Regions from separate parts of the Homo sapiens genome. Here region 1 is linked to region 2. Evidence: promoter capture Hi-C in human tissues and cell types (Jung and others, 2019). All regions are on one chromosome and are shown on one strand. The core of a region is centred on a gene start or on the middle of the fragment in contact, and the rest is flanking DNA. Distances in the headings are between cores, read along the strand shown.

The links. The method cuts DNA at HindIII sites, captures the fragments that hold promoters and counts their contacts. A contact is called where the count stands out against the background at its distance.
Region 1: the fragment with the promoter of PRR13 here is called in contact with a fragment that was not itself captured in region 2 in 1 of the 25 tissues and cell types used here (dorsolateral prefrontal cortex).

What each region holds. Positions count from the first base shown.
Region 1 is chr12:53,437,354-53,443,460 of GRCh38, reverse strand. It overlaps PRR13 (proline rich 13), which reads right to left and starts at 1,727. Exons shown (of 4, transcript NM_018457.4): 1 at 1,669-1,727; 2 at 728-766; 3 at 1-70. The coding sequence starts at 746. RefSeq lists a silencer at 1,730-1,879 and enhancers at 2,170-2,259, 1,990-2,755. The HindIII fragment of the contact is 13,829 bases long and covers 1-6,107 here.
Region 2 is chr12:53,068,049-53,074,007 of GRCh38, reverse strand. It overlaps SPRYD3 (SPRY domain containing 3), which reads left to right. Exons shown (of 11, transcript NM_032840.3): 6 at 537-722; 7 at 5,704-5,853. Among named protein-coding and RNA genes, the nearest start is that of SPRYD3, 8.4 kb to the left of the region's middle. RefSeq lists enhancers at 1,125-1,625, 1,449-1,743, 1,626-2,126. The HindIII fragment of the contact is 7,372 bases long and covers 1-5,390 here.

The DNA of each region.
Region 1 (6,107 bases), core at 478-2,977, 370 kb before region 2:
GGTGGGTGGGCAGGATTGGAACCTCCAGGGCACCCAATATTGGGGGGATATGGATTTGGCCCTGGCTGCCCTGGTGGAAGAAGCAGAGAATAAACATTAGAATTCCCCAGAGTCTCCAACAACAAACAACAAAAAGAAAGAGATTCTTTCTCACTCAATACTTAAAGGGAAACGGAAAGATGACAAAGAAGAATGGAGGGTAGGGGAGACAAACTTGAGTTGGGGAGAAAAGGGGGAATGTCCCTGGAAGGGCTAGGGAGAGGAGGGAGACAGTGAACTCTGAGGAAGACAAAAGCACTGGTCAGTCCAGGCGCGGTGGCTCACGCCTGTAATCCCAGCACTTTGGGAGGCCGAGGTGGACAGATCTCATGAGGCCATGAGTTTGAGACCAGCCTGGCCAAATTGTGAAACCCCCATCTCTACTAAAAATACAAAAAGTAGCCGGGCGTGATAGCATGCGTCTGTAATCTCAGCTACTCCAGAGGCTGAAACAGGAGAATCGCTTGAACCCAGGAGGCGGAGGTTGCAGTGAGCCTGGGCAACAGAGACTCCATCTCAAAAAATAAATAAATTAAATTAAATTAAAAAGCACTGGTCAGCTCTAGACTAAGGACTTTGCTTTTGCGGGTACAGCAGGTCGGGGGTAGGGGAGCTGATACAGAAACTTCCTGTTATAGAGCCCATCAGAAAAAGGGTTAGGGGTGGAACAGAACCCCCAAACACCTACCGGCATTGGGATTCCACATGTTTAGGTGTGTCCTCCAGCCTGAGGAGAAAGAAATGAGGCAAAAAAGATGACGGTCTAGAGGTAGGAAGTGGACTTAGCACCGGAGCCCAGCCCTAACGTCTTCCACCCCACAGTAGGCTCTCCTACCTGGAGAACTACCACAACTTCCACATAAGAAATGTCTCTTTTCTGGCTGGGCGCGGTGGCTCACGCCTGTAATCCCAGCACTTTGGGAGGCCGAGGCGGGTGGATCACGAGGTCAAGAGTTCGAGACCAGCCTGGCCAACATCGTGAAACCCCGTCTCTACTAAAAATCTAAAAATTAGCCGGGCGCGGTGGCGGGCACCTGTAATCCCAGTTATTCGGGAGGCTGAGTCAGGAAAATTGCTTGAACCCGGGAGGCAGAGGTTGCAGTGAGCCGAGACCGCGCCACTGCACTCTAGCCTGGGCGACGGAGCAAGACACCGTCTCAAAAAGAAAAGAAAAGAAAAGAAATGTCTCTTTCCACTTGTTTCTTCGCCCTCAATACCTACTTGGTTCCTAACACAGGAATCTAGTTCCCAGGGCCCCTCCACCCAGGTGGAAGCGTCTAACTCTTCGGAAGTAGGCAGTACCCGCGAGTCTCGGCCCCACCATCACTCATCTCCCTTTCCCTGGAACTGAGTACGGAGGCCTTTAACCACGCACAGAGTAAGAAAGGATCTCAAACAACTTTCTCTCTCCCTGGGGAGGACCCCACCTCAGGCTAAAAAAAGGATACGCCTCGAGGCGAAGTAAGAAGGAAGTTGCCCAAGAACCTCAAATACTTAAATATGTGGACACAGCCCCCTTCCTCCAAAAAAGAAAAAAGGCAAATGAAGATCCTAGCCCCAAGCTGCGAAGAGACTCTTGACCTAGCAAGGGGAAAAGGAAAAACCTATGGAATCCAGATACCCCATCACCTTTCCACCGCCGCCTGGGCTTGCTGCGTTCTCCTTCGCAGTCTCGGCTCTTCCTAGTCACCCAGACCCCGTGCTTCGGCACCCGCCTCTGCTACTGCCTAATTGGTAATTATGTGGCCGCTCGACTGATGATTAGACAACAAACTAATCAATCACTCTGGTCCGACTGAGGAGGAAACGGTTGCTCTAGGGGCGGAGCGGAGCCCTTTACGGCTAGGCCAGTACCGAGAAGCCGGAAATCTCCTGGGGGCGGGGCTAGGCGGAGAGCGCTGGAGGGGGCGGGGCCAGCTGCTGGGCAAAGTCCTAGAGACACCGAGAAGAAACTCTTCCCTTGCTCTCTTACCTCATGGTTCACTGGGTGCAATACCTTGTAAAATGAATACACTATGGTAAGTGTTGTAATACAGATATAGACAGAGTTCTCGGCAAGGGCAGAAGAGCTGCTGAGTCCCAGCCCCAAGCCTCAATGTTCCCGGCTCCGTCTTACACTCGCAAGGGAAGCAAACAAACATTCTTGCGGAAGATACAGAGATTTCATAATCTCTCCCAGGATTCCCTCTCTCAATTGCATAGCTCCGCCATCTGTCAAGTAGCCTAAACCAGAAACCAAGGAGGGCGTCCGTGATCCCTCTGCCTCCTTCACCTCCCTTACCCCAAATTATCAGTTTTGTCTCTCAAATATATCTGGAATCTCTCCACTTCTCTCTGTCTTCCCTGCTCCAAACCTCCCATCATCTGTCGCCTGGATTCATCTCTCCCCTGAATTGCTACAATGGCCTCCCTACAATGGCCTCCCTTTTTTTTTTTTTTTTTTTTTTTGAGACGGAGTCTCGCTCTGTCACGAGGCTGGAGTGCAGTGGTGCGACCTCGGCTCACTGCAACCTCCGCTTCCCGGGTTCAAGCGATAATCCTGCCTCAGCCTCCGAAGTAGCTGGGACTACAGACGCGGCTAATTTTTCTATTTTTTAGTAGAGATGGGATTTCACCATGTTGGCCAGGATGGTCTCGCTCTCTTGACTTCGTGATCTGCCCGCCTCGGCCTCCCAAAGTGCTGGGATTATAGGCGTGAGCCACCGTACCCAGCCTTTAAAAAAAAAAAAAAAATACAAGTGGCCGGGCGCAGTGGCTCACGCCTGTAATCCCAGCACTTTGGGAGGCCGAGGCAGGCGGATCACAAGGTCAGGAGTTCGAGACCAGCCTGGCCAATATGGTAAAACCCCGTTTCTACTAAAAATACAAAAATTAGCCGGGCGTGGTGACATGTGCCTGTAATCCCAGCCACTTGAGAGGCTGAGGCAGGAGAATCGCTTGAACCCGGGAGGTTGCAGTGAACCGAGATCACGCCATAGCACTCCAGCCTGGGCAACAGAGCGAGACTCCATCTCAAAAAAAAAAAGAAAGAAAGAAAGAAAGAAAGTGAGCTAGGCATGGTGGCACATACCTGTAATCCCAGCTAGTGGGAAGGCTGAGGCATGAGAATCGCTTGAACCTGGGAGGGAGAGGGTGCAGTGAGCCAAGATCATGCCACTGCACTCCAGACTAAGCAACAGAGCAGGACTCTGTTTCAAAAAAAAAAAAAAAAAAAAGTGGGATACAAAAAAATTTAAGACAATAAATTTTATGCCAAATATGTCATATTAAACTAAAGCATTTGAAATATTTTAAACTTTTTTTCTTTTAATTTTTATTTTTAGTGCTGGGGTACATGTGCATGATGTGCAGGTTTGTTACATAGTTAAATGTGTGCCATGCTGGTTTGCTGCACAAATTTTGCTGCACCAATAAACCCATCAGCTAGGTATTAAGCCCAGCATGCATTAGCTATTTTTCCTAATATTCTCACTCCCCTGACCCTACCCCCCAACAGGCCCCAGTGTGTGTTGTTCCCCTCCTTGTGTCCATGTGTTCTTACTGTGTAGCTCCCACTTGAGTGAGAACATGTTCCTGCATGAGTTTGCTGAGGTTAATGGCTTCCAGCTTCATCCATGTCCCTATAAAGGACATGATCTCATTCCTTTTTATGGCTACATAGTATTCCATGGTATATATGTACCACAGTTTTTCAGTCTATTGTTGATGGGCATTTGGATTAATTCCATGTCTTTGCTATTGTGAATAGTGCTACAGTGAACATACACATGCATGTATGTTTGTAATAGAATGATTTATATTCCTTTGGGTATACACCCAGTAATGAGATTGCTGGGTCAAATGGTATTTCTGGTTCTAGATCTTTGAGGAATCGCCACATCGTCTTCCACAATGGTTGAACTAATTTACACTCCCACCAACAGTGTAAAAATGTTCCTATTTCTCCACAACCTTGCCAGCATCTGGATTTTGGTTTTGGGTTTTTTTTTTTTTTTGAGACTGAGTCTTGCTCTGTCGCCCAGGCTGAAGTGCAGTGGCAGGATCTCAGCTCACTGCAACCTCTGCCTCCCGGGTTCAAGCGATTCTCCTGCCTCAGCCTCCCGAGTAGCTAGAATTACAGGTGCCTGCCGCCACACCTGCCATATATATATACATATATATATTTGTATTTTTAGTAGAAACAGGGTTTCACCATGCTGGCCAGGGTGGTTTCAAACTCCTGACCTCAAGTGATTCACTCACCCTTGGCCTCCCAAAGTGCTAGGGTTACAGGCATGAGCCACCAGGCCTGGCCTGTTATTTCTTGACTTTTTAATAATCACCATTCTGACTGGCATGAGATAGTATCTCATTATGGTTTTGATTTACATTTCTCTAATGTTCAGTGATGTTGAGCTTTTTTTCATGTTTGTTGGCTGCATATCTTCTTTTTTTTTTTTTTTTTTTTTTTTTTTGAGACGGAGTCTCTCTCTGTCGCCCGGGCTGGAGTGCAGTGGCGGGATCTCGGCTCACTGCAAGCTCCGCCTCCCGGGTTCACGCCATTCTCCTGCCTCAGCCTCCCAAGTAGCTGGGACTACAGGCGCCCGCCACTACGCCCGGCTAATTTTTTGTATTTTTTAGTAGAGACGGGGTTTCACCGTTTTAGCCGGGATGGTCTCGATCTCCTGACCTCGTGATCCGCCCGCCTCGGCCTCCCAAAGTGCTGGGATTACAGGCGTGAGCCACCGCGCCCGGCCGGCTGCATATCTTCTTTTGAGAAATGTCTGTTAATGTCCTTTGCCCCCCCCTTTTTTTTTTGAGACGGAGTCTCGCCCTGGCCCCGTTGTCCAGGCTGGAGTGCAGTGGCACGATCTTGGCTCACTGCAAGCTCCGCCTCCCAGGTTCGCACCATTCTCCTGCCTCAGCCTCCCGAGTAGCTGGGACTACAGGCACCCGCCACCGTGCCTGGCTAATTTTTTATATTTTTAGTAGAGACGGGGTTTCACCCTCTTAGCCAGGATGATCTTGATCTCCTGACCTCGTGATCCGCCCGCCTCGGCCCCCCAAAGTGCTGGGATTATAGGCGTGAGCCACCGCACCTGGCCTTTTGCCCACTTTTTTTTTTTTTTTCCTATCTCTTTTTTTTTTTTTTTTTTAATTGATCATTCTTGGGTGTTTCTCGCAGAGGGGGATTTGGCAGGGTCATAGGACAATAGTGGAGGGAAGGTCAGCAGATAAACAAGTGAACAAAGGTCTCTGGTTTTCCTAGGCAGAGGACCCTGCGGCCTTCCCCAGTGTTTGTGTCCCTGGGTACTTGAGATTAGGGAGTGGTGATGACTCTTAACGAGCATGCTGCCTTCAAGCATCTGTTTAACAAAACACATCTTGCACCGCCCTTAATCCATTTAACCCTGAGTGGACACAGCACATGATTCAGAGAGCACCGGGTTGGGGGTAAGGTCATAGATCAACAGCATCCCAAGGCAGAAGAATTTTTCTTAGTACAGAACAAAATGGAGTCTCCTATGTCTACTTCTTTCTACACAGACACAGCAACAATCTGATTTCTGTATCTTTTCCCCACATTTCCCCCTTTTCTATTCGACAAAACCGCCATCGTCATCATGGCCCGTTCTCAATCAGCTGTTGGGTACACCTCCCGGACGGGGTGGCGGCAGGGCAGAGGGGCTCCTCACTTCCCAGAAGGGGCGGCCGGGCAGAGGCACCCCCCACCTCCCGGACGGGGCGGCTGGCCGGGCGGGGGCCGCCCCCCACCTCCCTCCCGGACGGGGAGGCTGGCCGTTGCCCACTTTTTAATGGGGTTGTTTTTTTCTCGTAAATTTGTTTGAGTTTCTTCTAGATTCTGGATATTAGACACTTTGGCAGATCACAAAAATTTTCTCCCATTCTGTAGGTTGCCTGTTTGTTCTGATGATAGTTTCTTTTGCTGTGCAGAAGCTCTTTAGTTTAATTAGATCACATTTGTCAATTTTTGCTTTTATTGCGATTGCTTTTGGTGATCCCATCATGAAATCTTTGCCCATGCCTATGTCCTGAGTGGTATTGCCTAGACAGTGTTCTTTTATTCT
Region 2 (5,959 bases), core at 455-2,954:
GTCAGGAGACTTGTGTTTGTCTTCTAGCTCTGTACATACCTTGCTTAGCCAGGAGTACTTAGCACATTTGGAAACTTTTCTGCACCTCTGGGTTGCTTTTTTTTTTTTAATCTGTCAGTGTGTGTGATAATTATTGGTTGCATCATCTTTTTTTTTTTTTTTTTGAAATGGAGTCTCGCTCTGTCCCCCAGGCTGGAGTGCAGTGGCACCATCTCGGCTCACTGCAAGCTCCGCCTCCCGGGTTCACGCCATTCTCCTGCCTCAGCCTCCCGAGTAGCTGGGACTACAGGCGCCCGCCACCACGCCCGGCTAATTTTTTGTATTTTTAGTAGAGACGGGGTTTCACCGTGTTAGCCAGGATGGTTTCAATCTCCTGACCTTGTGATCCGCCCACCTCGGCCTCCCAAAGTGCTGGGATTACAGGCGTGAGCCACCACGCCCGGCTGGTTGCATCATCTTAAAAGTACCCTTGTGAGAATTAGGTGAGCTATGGAAAAGCAGGCCGGGTGGCAGCTCCGTCTTTCCCCCCACTGCAGGTGGGCTCTACCATCATGCCCATGTCCCCAGATGGACTGTTCCCAGCAGTGGGCATGCACTCCCTGGGTGAGGAGGTGCGGCTGCACCTCAACGCTGAGCTGGGCCGTGAGGACGACAGCGTCATGATGGTGGACAGTTACGAGGATGAATGGGGCCGGCTACATGATGTCAGAGTCTGTGGGACTGTAAGTAGCGGGTGGGAGGGTGGGAGGGGCTGGGTCGGAGGAGGCTGGGCAGAACACCTGTGGGCACATGGTCATGTCTGAATTGCTGGGAATGGGGAGTCGGGACAGTGTCCGTGTGGGGTTTGGCAAGATAGCCTAGGCTCTTGACATGAGTCCTTGAGTCCAGATCTGTGTTTTCTTTAGCACATGTTCTCTTTTCTTCACTTCCTCCTCTTCAGGGAACTCAGGTTCGCAGTTTGACCCTGGGAACAAGTAGTTCTGCTTTGCCTTTTTTGGTTCCTTCAGCTTCTGGTGTCTTCTACAGCCCTGCACAACTGCCTTTGAGGGGCTGGGGGTTGATCTGGAGGCAAAATGCCTGGCCCAGGCTTTTCATTCAAAGTGTTGTGGGGCAGGTGTGGTCAGAAGTCCACACATGTGGTGGAAGGTTCTTAGCCATCTTTTTTGAGGAAGTGTCAATGTCAGTTTCTATTGTCTTATCCCTGCATTTGATAGAGGATTAGAATGGAGGCAGATAAAGATTCAGTGAGCATCCTTACACCTCCAAACTTGCTTCATTTATCTTTTCCTCATACCTGCTTTAGTATGGATTTTAAGCTTCGTTGGGAAGCGTGTGGAGCTTGAGAAAGGGGAATTCTTCCTCCCCGGATTTTAAGTTTTGTTGGAAAATTCATGAACCTTGAGAAAGGAAAATTCTTCCTGTCTGCCTCAATACACTGTGCTGCATTGGGAGTGAATGGACGCCAAGTCCGGGATCTGGCCCTGACCTCTAGTGGGCTGCTCAGCCCTCCCACTTCGAATTGTCCCTCTCCTACCCCCTTGCTCCTGGCCTGGCCTTTTTCTCCACCCTCTGGCCTTTCCACCCCAACCCAGGCTGTTTTCAACTCAGTCTTTGATAACAAAACAGAAGCAGTGGGGGGTGGGAGCGGATTAGGAGCCAGGCCTCCCCCTGGTGGAGTGGAACTCAGGGAAAATGACAGGAAGTGTGCCCTCCTGCTGCTTCTGACACTCTGCACCCCCGTCTGGCATCAGGGTCCCAGGCTGCAGCGACCGAGAGCTAAGAGGCCTCAGATGCCCACTCCGTGACTCTCATGTCTTTCCTTTTTCCCCTCAATCTACCATCATTCTGACAACATCTACAGAGTTAAACTTGGGGCTGCGCCAGGGCGATGTTCCAGCTCTCATCTCTGACCTCTCCTCAAGAGTTTTTTCCTGGCATCCTTTCTCTGCCTGGACCTGTCCCCACTCTGCTCTCAGCTCCTCCCAGGCAATCTTTTCTAATTGATGCAGAATCCTGTAGACATTTATAAATAGCCTTCCTTCCTCCCCACCCTCCCCCCAACACCTTCAGCCACTTATTTAAGAGTGTTTTTCTTTTTTAGACATAAGCTGTTGAATTGGGCCCTTCTCTCAGACCCTCACCCCAGCTTGGGCCAGGTGGCAGGGTGGGAGCACTACTCCTGGGGCACCCGTTCCTCTGGGGCCAACTTGGATGTGAGCTTCCTGAGGGACATGTGCCTTTTTCCAGTCATGCCAACTTTCCTTTTTTTTTTTTTTTTTTTTTTAAGACAGGCTATCACTCTGTCACCCAGACTGGAGTGCTGGTTCACTTCAGCCTCCAACTCCCAGGCTCAAGGGATCCTCCCACCTTGGCCTCCCAAATTGCTGGGATTAGAGGCATGAGCCACTGCCCTGGGCCTCAACAGTTGTTAGATTTGAGTCTTTGGATATAGACAGACCTGGCTCTTTCTTGAGTGGAATTCTTCCCCTGCCTCCTGTGGCCTGTTTCCCCCTCCTAAAGAGTCTACCTCCTCAGAGCTCTGAGGGGTTGAGGAATTGCTGGGGCACTTGCCTCTCACCTCATCCCTGCCTCCAGGCCTCGCAAAGTGAGGTAATGTGGTGGAGGGGAGCTGGGGGCGGTAGGTAACAGCTGGGGGATTAGACTCATTCTGTGTTTGTGCCCTGTTCACAGCTCCTCTGACAACTCCTTAGTGACAGGGGCAACAGCTTTGGTACACACAGGGTGGTGAATGAGGCCCCGCCCTCCCAGGGGTCCTCCCCAGACCCAGCCCAGAGGGAGGCTGTGCTGGAGCCTGAGCTGGCCAGGAGAGTGTGTACTTGGTTCCTGTTTCAGTTGCTTCTGGGCCCTCAGGGCACTGAGCCCTTCCTTGCTCCTGTCAAGAGGGATTAGGGTCTCTGCTGGCAAGGGGAGGAGGGCGGATACCGGCAGGGGAGAAGAGGCTGGGAAGGTGCTACTGGTAGAGGGAGGGTGTGGAGTGCACGAGACTGTCCACACTCTGGTCTGCAGCCGCCACTCTGTGGCACTGAGTCATGTCTTTGGCTTCTTGGGGCTTTGGTGGTATGTGTGTATTAGGGGGAGACCCAAAGAAAGGGCTCCATCTTCCCCCACCAAAAATGCAGAGAAACATTTCTGTTGATTGGACATTGTTTGAGAGGAGACACATAGGGTAGAGTTGTCTGGGGAGTGGCCATCGTCCTGGTTGGCCTAAGGGACCATTGTAGTTGGAAGTAAGGGCTAAGATGAAAGATCATTTCCTTCTTTGTGATCGGCAATTCCAACGTAACCCCATTTACACTGATTTAGGGAGAGGCAGCAATGTGTATTGGTCACTTCATTAAGTCTTCCCACTTGTTTTTGGAAATTCAGGTAATCTTATCCCAGTTTACTGTTGAAGAAACCAAGGCTTAAGGAGGTGAATGTCATTTGCCTGAGGTTAGCGGCTGTTAAGTAATAGGAGTTAGGATTTGAACCCAGGTCTGTTGGATTCTGAGGTACAGGTTGAGGGACCAGCATCAAGATCCTAACAGTTCAGACTCTAAGGGTTAACCTTCACTCCTCCTCTAGGTTCCTAACAGCTATAGACCAAGGAGGCAGAGGAATGTACTCAAGAAAGAATCTGTCAGGGAGGCCAAATATTCCCCCCACTTCCACCCCTCTGAGTTCTCTGGGAAGGCTCAGGAGGGGTCGGGGGAGCTTTGTCCAGGAGCAGGAGAGTGGATCAGGAGGTTTATGATGGCTTTCACTGTGAGGGCTGGGCGGTCCCCTCTGAAGAGGGCACGCTGTACAAGCCTCACCTATACACTGTACAAGTACCTAGTCGTCCAGGACATCAGCATTCTGTCCGAAGTGCTCTGTGGTTGGCAGGTAGAGAGTGGGTTTTAAAGACCCATGTTGGGGTAGTCCGTCCTGGCTTTTAGCGTGAGAAAGCACCTCCACCCTATCCAGAGACAGAAATGCAGCAGCTACCCTCTTCTGAGCTGAGGCAAAGGGAGGGGCTGGCCGGGTATTTCCCAAGGATCAGGGTCTGGATCGGCTGTCTTTTGGCTCTGGAAATGGAGAACACTGTGTTTCCTACACCGAGGCCAGTTGGATAGAATGGGTCAAAGGCAGCTGTGGGGTCCCCCACCCAGTTCTGCAATGCTGGGTGGAGAGGGTGGGCTGGGGGCTGCTCTGCCTGGGTGGAGTCTAAACTAGTTAATGTGGATCAAGCCACACCCCTCCTGGCTTCCCGGGGAGAGAGGCAGAGGAGGAACCCAGGCTGAGCAGAGAATACACCATGAACAGAAGTCAAACAGTGTGGCCTTGGGGATGGGCTTAGGTGGTCTCCCGTGCATGCTGCTTTCCCCCTCATCCATCCCCAGTTATCTTTGGAGAGGAGGGAAGGATGGACTTGAGGTGGCGGGGCTGAGATCCAGGGCTGAGAAAGGCACCAAGCCCCTCTAGTCCTACTCTCAGAAGGGGTTAGTAGCACCCCGCTCTAAGCACCTGAGCTAAGCAGCGGCCGTCTGAGGCTGGGAGTGGGGATGCGGGAGCAGCCTCTGCTGGAGACACGCACAGGCTTCTGTGCTGGTGCAGGTGGGCATAATTCCTTTCCTGTTCAGGCAGGAATCTGTGAGAGGTGAGAGGCCGGCGTCCCAAAGCTTGCCAGGGAGACGTGGAGGAGGTCCCTAGGCAACATGTTTCCTTCAGGGCTGCAGGGGTGGGAGGGTAGAAGAAAGTCGTGAGGGGCAGTTGGGCTAATTAAAAGGAGATTAAGGAATCCCAGGTGAGGCCGAAGGTGGGGGAAAGAGGGGATGGGGTTGAGTCATCACCCCACTATTACCATGACAACTGACAAATAAATCCTCCCAGATTGGGGGTTGCCGCCCCGTCGTGCCCAGGCAGGACCATTGTGGGACTGAAGAGCCCCAAGAACCCATCAGTCATCTCCCCTATCCTACCTCCACGCCCCTACTCCAACTTGAATGAGCAATGAGGGGCTGGGAACAGCTAAGCCTGCCTCTGTCTTCATTTTGACCTCTCCTCTCCCTCACATGAAATGAGGGAGTAGAGCTGGGCGTTCTGGGTCCCTGGGCTCCCCTCAGCACCTCCCTGACCCAGCTAAGAACAGCTGTGTTCACAGCCAAGTAAAACAAGGACCTTGAGAAATTATGTCAGGCCCATCCCAGGCAGAATTGGCTTCTGAACTCACCCGCTTCCCCTGAATATCTGGGGTTGGCACCTAACTTCTGCATCCTCCCTGTCCCCATTAGGCCCCCTGAGAAAGTCATCAAGTTTCCTCTCAGCTAGTCTTGCTTCTCCTTTCCCCTGTGTTTGGGACCCTGGGCGGACCTTTCCCAGCAGGAAAGGCTGCAGGGTTTTTCAGCGGGCGAGGATGCATCTAGAGCCCCCTGGTGTGCCGCTCCCCTAGCTGTGCTGCTTTCCCCGGCCTCCCAGAAAGTGTGTGGGGGAAGACAGCGTGGGCATTCAGCAAGGGGTGCTCTCCCCTTTGCCTCCCACCCCATCCTGCTCTTCCATGCTGGCCTAGAACTTTGGGGCCACATTGTATCTCTAGGATTCTTTCCCTTTCAGCCAGGAGTTTTTGTCAGACCTGGGAAAGTGGGACCCAGACTGCCTTGGGCCCAGGTTTCCAGGGTGGGTGTCAGCCTGTCCCCTGACCCCCATCTGGCTCTTCCCCCACAGCTGCTGGAGTACTTAGGGAAGGGCAAAAGCATCGTGGATGTGGGGCTGGCCCAGGCCCGGCACCCACTCAGCACCCGCAGCCACTACTTCGAGGTGGAGATCGTGGACCCTGGAGAGAAATGCTACATCGCCCTGGGGCTGGCACGGAAGGTGGGCACAAAGGCTGAGCTTTTTTGCTCATGGAGCTGCTCAGGTCTGGGGCTGTTGGGGCAGCACCAGGAAGCTCTTAGGAGAAACCAGGGGAGCCCAGGCTTTG